Linked DNA regions of Homo sapiens: region 2 is linked to region 1. Evidence: promoter capture Hi-C in 16 types of primary human blood cells and fetal thymus (Javierre and others, 2016). All regions are on one chromosome and are shown on one strand. Each heading gives the region's core, a stretch centred on a gene start or on the middle of the fragment in contact. The rest is flanking DNA. Distances are from core to core; before and after follow the strand shown. Region 1 overlaps PIK3R5 (phosphoinositide-3-kinase regulatory subunit 5). Region 2 holds the start of VAMP2 (vesicle associated membrane protein 2).

What was found. Contacts are between HindIII fragments. The CHiCAGO score rates a contact against its expected background, and 5 or more counts as called.
Region 2: the fragment with the promoter of VAMP2 here is called in contact with a fragment that was not itself captured in region 1 in 1 of 17 cell types (naive CD8 T cells); the score reaches 5.6 in naive CD8 T cells.

The regions. Positions count from the first base shown.
Region 1 is chr17:8,955,229-8,958,143 of GRCh38, forward strand. All of the region lies in intron 1 of PIK3R5 (phosphoinositide-3-kinase regulatory subunit 5), which reads right to left. Among named protein-coding and RNA genes, the nearest start is that of PIK3R5, 9.0 kb to the right of the region's middle. RefSeq lists an enhancer at 1-455. The HindIII fragment of the contact is 2,450 bases long and covers 118-2,567 here.
Region 2 is chr17:8,161,421-8,164,427 of GRCh38, forward strand. It overlaps VAMP2 (vesicle associated membrane protein 2), which reads right to left and starts at 1,528. Exons shown (of 5, transcript NM_014232.3): 1 at 1,458-1,528; 2 at 829-949; 3 at 188-346; 4 at 53-104. The coding sequence starts at 1,459. RefSeq lists an enhancer at 696-745 and silencers at 856-965, 1,256-1,445, 1,606-1,705, 1,836-1,895. The HindIII fragment of the contact is 9,788 bases long and covers 1-3,007 here.

The DNA of each region.
Region 1 (2,915 bases), core at 93-2,592:
CCTCTTCCATGCTGGCTGCTCGACCAGGCAATCACTCATTCAGCAAGCACTGATTGAATGACAAGTGCTGGCCCCTGCAAGGCACTGGAGAGTCAGCACTGAACAAAATGATTGGAAAGCTTCCCTCATTGGGAAGGGGATGAGTGAGGCAAGAACACACGTTAGGTCTTGGGAAAACTGAGTCAGGCAGTCTGGCTGGAGGAGAGCGTGATGATTCGTGGAGAAAGGAGTGGGACTCAACTTCGAAACCTGAACAGAAGACTAAGGACTCTGGACTCTCCCTAAGCAGTGGGGTGCCATCAAAGTATCTGAACACAGTGACATAGAAGTTTTCATAAGAAGAATCTCCTGGTGAAGAGAGGAAGAGCCTGTGGTCCAAAAGGCCCACCAGAGGCATATGGTAAATAAAGCCAAATTGGGTAGGAGAGAGAACAATGGGGAAGTGAGAGAAACAAGAGCCATGGAGAAAGGAAGCACCATCAAAACGGGCTGGGGAGTGGGGAACAAGGAAGATGGAGGGAGGACTCGGAGATGAGTCCAAGGTTTCAAGGCTGGGAGTCTGGTTTCAGCAGAGACAGAAATGGGGAAGTCTGCACAGGAAGCCTGCTTTGTGGATGCAGAGTTGGGCTCTGGATATTGCTCAAGTTGAAATAGGGCATCAAGTGAAAATAACCCGCATGTACTTGGAGGCCGAAGCAGGTAGATCACTTGAGCCCAGGAGTTTGAGAACAGCCTGGGCAACATAGTGAGACCCTGTCTCTACAAAAAACACACACAAAAAATTAGCTGGGCGTGGTGGCATACACCTGTAGTCCCAGCTACTCAGGAGACTGAGGCAGGAGGATCATCTGAGCCTGGGGAGGTTGACACTACAGTGATCTGTGATCGTGCCACTGTACTCCAGTCTGGGTGACAGAGTGAGACCCTTTCTCAAAAATAAAAAATAAAACAAAAATTTGTCGGGCATCAGACTTTATGGAGACTTCAAAAAAAAAAAAGATGCAGGTTGGGAAGAGACTATTGGAACTTGCCATTCCAGAGCCACCAGTGACCTGAAAGGAAGCCTTCCAGCAGAAGCATGGGCTAGAGGGTGGGTTTCTGCCATTGAGGTCTGAAGAGGGACTCATAGTCACTGGGAGTCCTGTCATAAGGTGGCACCATGAGGGAAGGAGCAGGTCCCCTCTCTGCTCAGCCCATCAGAGCAGCTCCCACAAGAAAACTCTTGGAGAGCAGGCTTTGAAAACTCCCAGGTGGTCAGAATCATAGAGTCCAGTTGGTCCAGGAGGAAACAGACTCAGCAAGATGAGGAAGTAATTAGGGGCCAGGACTAGAGATTACATCTCCTATTCCCATCCTGTAGCCCGTACATCACATCACAGCCCCCTGTGTTCTCTTAAGCACAATAACAGGCCAAGGAGAGCGCAGAGCTTTTCGTTTTCTCAAAATGAAACTCTCAACATGGTACAGAAGTGAATGCACAGTGCAAAGACCTATGAAACATTGACGTGAAAACCCCAAGAACAAGAGGACATCAATTCCCAGCTCAACCTGGAGGTGAGATAGGTTGGCCCCAAGATCTTATCTGGGACACTCACGGAGGAAGGCAATTTTGAAATGGTGTTCAATTAGTTTATTTTACCAAGTATCAGAAGGAGCCAAGAACAAGAGACCTCAAGAAAAGCCCATGCTCCCAGCAGAGGATGTGGGCGAGGATCCCAGTATCCATGAATGGCTATGGTTTTCTCACAGCCAAGGTGCTTCTGCTGCGGAGAACGGGCTGTGAAGCAGGGCTGTGGGGTTTCTGAGCAAACTGCCCAGCTTTGGGACCTGTTTATTCAAGGTCACTGAACTACTCAAACTCAAATCATGTTCTCAGAACAACCAGCGTTTACACAACCAGTCAGACATGGCCACCATGATTTAGAGAACTACAGGCTCTTTAAAAATAAGCTATATTGGTCTCCTTTCTCACGGCTATCATTTCCATAATATATAACATGTATTTTCCCTGCATACTTCCCCAACGGGAAACTAGCCACCACGAAGCCTCCCATTCCACTGTTGACCTGCTCTGAATTTCTCTGAGATCTTCCTTCTAGTGAGCTGGAGTCTATTTTCTTACAATTTTCCTTCTGTCATCCCTTTTCCATTCCAGAGAATGACACCCAGTTGAGAAGTCTTCACCTTTTTCAAAGGACACTGCTCGTCAAACATCTGAAGACAGATACTACTTCTCCTCTGTCTTCTCTTCTTGGAGAAAAACCTCGCTACTTCTTAATTACTTCATATTCTGTCATCGCTATCCTGGTCACCTATCTCTGGATATGAAGTGGTTGCTCAGCATCCTCCAAATGCAGCACCTGGAATTCACTCAAGGTGGATATGCCCAGTTCAGTGTGGAAATAGGCATGCTTGTTAGCTGAAGGGCATATAAAGTAAGGACCCATGGGACCTAGTGGCTGAACATTGGAAGCCAAGAATCAAAGATGGCTCTCGGGCATGAGCCTGGGAGCTCTGAGGTTTACAGATTTGTACCTGGGAGGACTGAGGAAGAGAGAAGAGAAGGAAGCTTGGGGAGTGGGAAGCCAAGAATCCCACAGTGGAAGACCTCAAGACTGGAGCCGTTCTCCCAGCTTCCAAGGAGCAGCTCATTCCCCGCTCTATAAGCTGTCACAGGGCGTGGGAGAAGGTAACGTGCTTCCAAAATCATTTGCAAAGTCAGTATATCAAAAACTGACAACGGCAGCACAGAAAAGGAAAATAGAGGTCAAATTCATTTCATGCAAAAATCCTAAAGAAAGGTGGGATGCGGTGGCTCACTCCTATAATCCCAGCACTTTGGGAGGCCAAGGCTGGTGGATCACTTGAGGCCAGGAGTTCGAGAGCAGCCTGGCCAACATGGTGAATCCCCGTCT
Region 2 (3,007 bases), core at 278-2,777, 790 kb before region 1:
ACTGGGGAAACCTCTCCAGGGAAAGGGCCCCGGCCATTCTCACCCTACTCACCTATGATGATGATGAGGATGATGGCGCAAATCACTCCCAAGATGATCATCATCTGGGGGTGAGAGGCGAGGATCAGTAAGACAAACTATGATACCCCATTCACCCACCTGTCCTCCTTCCTGTCCCCACCCTTACCTTGAGGTTTTTCCACCAGTATTTGCGCTTGAGCTTGGCTGCGCTTGTTTCAAACTGGGAGGCCCCCGCCTGGAGTGCATCTGCACGGTCGTCCAGCTCCGACAGCTTCTGGTCTCGCTCCAGGACCTTGTCCACGTTCACCCTCATGATGTCCACCACCTGGGAGAAGGGCCCACGAGGCAGGGGGGTGTGCCAAGGCCCACCTCAGTGAGGGCAATCCTCAAACATGTGCCCACCGTGCCACACATGGAACATGCACCCTGATACTGCCAGGTTAACATGCCAAGGACACACAGAACATGCCTAGCACACCTGGGGACATGCAAGGAGCACACATCAGGGGCATGCTGGTGACATCTCAGATGTCATAGCAACACCCTCCCTCTATGGAACCTCAGGCGCTCTGTCCATCACCAGAGCACACCTGCCCAGGCTGGCACACCCCAGGCTAGCAAAGCTGATTAACACCCCCAGCGCCCTTCCAAGTGCGTGCTGACAGGGAGACAGGGATGGGGCATGGTATCTTTGTCCGCAAACCCACAGGCGTGAACTGTCATCACTCCCAAACCAACATGGGCCCCTACACCTATACGCCAACCCCCAGGGTCCCTCCTACTGCTTTTGACTCCCCCCACACTCACCTCATCCACCTGGGCCTGGGTCTGCTGCAGTCTCCTGTTACTGGTGAGGTTTGGAGGGGGTGCAGGGGGACCACCCTCCCCAGCCGGGGCAGCAGGGGGGGCCGTGGCAGCGGTAGCAGACCTGAGGAGCAGGGACGGATTAAGACCCAGGGCCTGCAGCCTCCCGGCCCCGCAGCCAGGGCTCCGCCCATCCACCTGTCCATCCTCGTCCCTCCAGTCCTCCTTTTCGGGAGGAAGGCCACCCGATGTAAGCCCTGGTCTCGGTCCAGCCCTGCCGCCGATGAGCTGCGTGACCTTGAGCGAGGCCCCCCCGGCCTCAGTTTCCCCGCCTGTCAACTGAGGGCGACCTCACAGATGCGATCCGGGTCGACCCGAAAAGACAGGCGGCCGCGGTGACAGGGGCGGGGAGGGGCAGGAGGACACTGGGTCCGCTCCTTCCCGCGGCCATCGCCCGAGCCGGCCAGCCCGGGACGCGGGGCTCCTCGGCCGCCCGCGCGCAGTCACCGGCTTGGGCCTGGCCCCGGGGCGCGGGGAACGCAGGAGAGACCCCGGGCACTCCCGACGGCCGGTTGCCAAGGGCGGCGGCCGGCGCAGGGAAGCGCGGTGAGGGTGGCGGGCGGCCGACTCACATGGCGGGGGCAGCGGGTGGAGGACTTGGCAGCGGCAGTGATGGCGGCGGCGGCTCGCGCTGGCTCCGACTGGCGCTGGCTGCCCGGGACGGAAAGATGGCGGCCGCGCGTCACCCGCATCCGGGCACTGCGGGCGGGGGCGGGGCGCCGCGGGAGACGCGTCGCGAGCGGGGCCGCGGGGGCGGGGCGCTGCGGGGCGCTGCGGGGCGGGGGTCGTGCCGGGCAGGACCACGGGCCCCGCGCCACCATGCCCCGGCAGCTCCCTCGGCACTCGCGGGACCCCAAGGCGGGCTGCTGCGGCTTCCCCAAACCCACCGCCACCCCACCCTGTCTGACCACAGCCCCCCCAAACCGCCTGCCGCCTGCCCCTTAGAGCACAACGCAGCCTGGCCCTACACCTAACCCCCAGACCACTCCCTCAATCGTGAACCCAGTAAACCAGCCTGCACCCCACACAGCCCAAGGTCTTGCCCCGCGCCCAGGTCCCAGCACCTAGCGACCCGCCTTCAGCACTTGGAATGGGCTGGAGTTGGGAAATCAGAGAGGGCCAGTGCAGGTGCTGGGGCAGTATCGAGAGCGGGGACCTTACTGCTAGGGTGGAGAGGAGTGGGGGAGATTGGTCCCAACCCATCACCGCTGGTGGATGTCTCAGAGGAAGCCTGGGGTCCCTGGCCACTGGGTAGGAGGGTAGGAAGAAAAGATGAGGCAGGCTCTTCCCGCCCAAACAAGTCCAGGGGGCGGAGGACGGGGGAGTGTCTACAGGGTGTGGGGAGGGGGCTGCCCCGCCTCACGATTAAGGTTCAGACTAGGGGTACTTAACCGCTGGAGCAGGCCCGACTGAGGTGGGGTGAGCTGAGGACCCCGAGGAGGAGGGCACAAGGCTGCCGGGGGTGATGGGGGCAGGGGCTGCTTCACGTGGTGGCTGCTGACTGGCCAAGACCTAGCTTTGCCCCAGGCTTAGGTCAGCGACCCGACTGCAGGAAAGGGCTCAGGCTTTGGTCCCAGGCACAGGGCCTGGGCCAAAAAAAAAAAAAAAGCCTTTTTTCTTTTTCTCTCATTTTTTTTTCTTTAGTAGTAGGCACAGTGGGCACAGGTTACAAGGTGCTGCTTTACATGCGTATTCGCCTCGCAGGTGTGACCTTGGACCGTTGCCCTCCTCTCTCTGGACCCCAAATACATTGCATATGTAGGTACTAAATCCATATTTGTTAAATGGCTTGATGTGGATAACATAGGAGATTATCCCTGGCTGGTCTCCATTAGGCCCTCTAAGCACACCCAGCAGCTGTATACACTCCCACCCAGCTTGTCAGAGAAGATGGGACCAGGGGAGCTGTCGCTCTGGTGGAGTGCAGGGGGTCAAAGCAAGCCTCAAGGGTGCAGGAGGCATTTTAGGCGAGGCCCTTTGGCCCTGGGGTGGGGGTGCTTACTACATCCCTGGAAGGTGCAGGGAGGCTGATGGCCTTGATCTCTAAGACAAACAGGAACCAGCTTCCTCCCTCCCCCACCCTGGCTTCCCAGGGCCTCCGGGTGTGAGATCCTCCCCCACT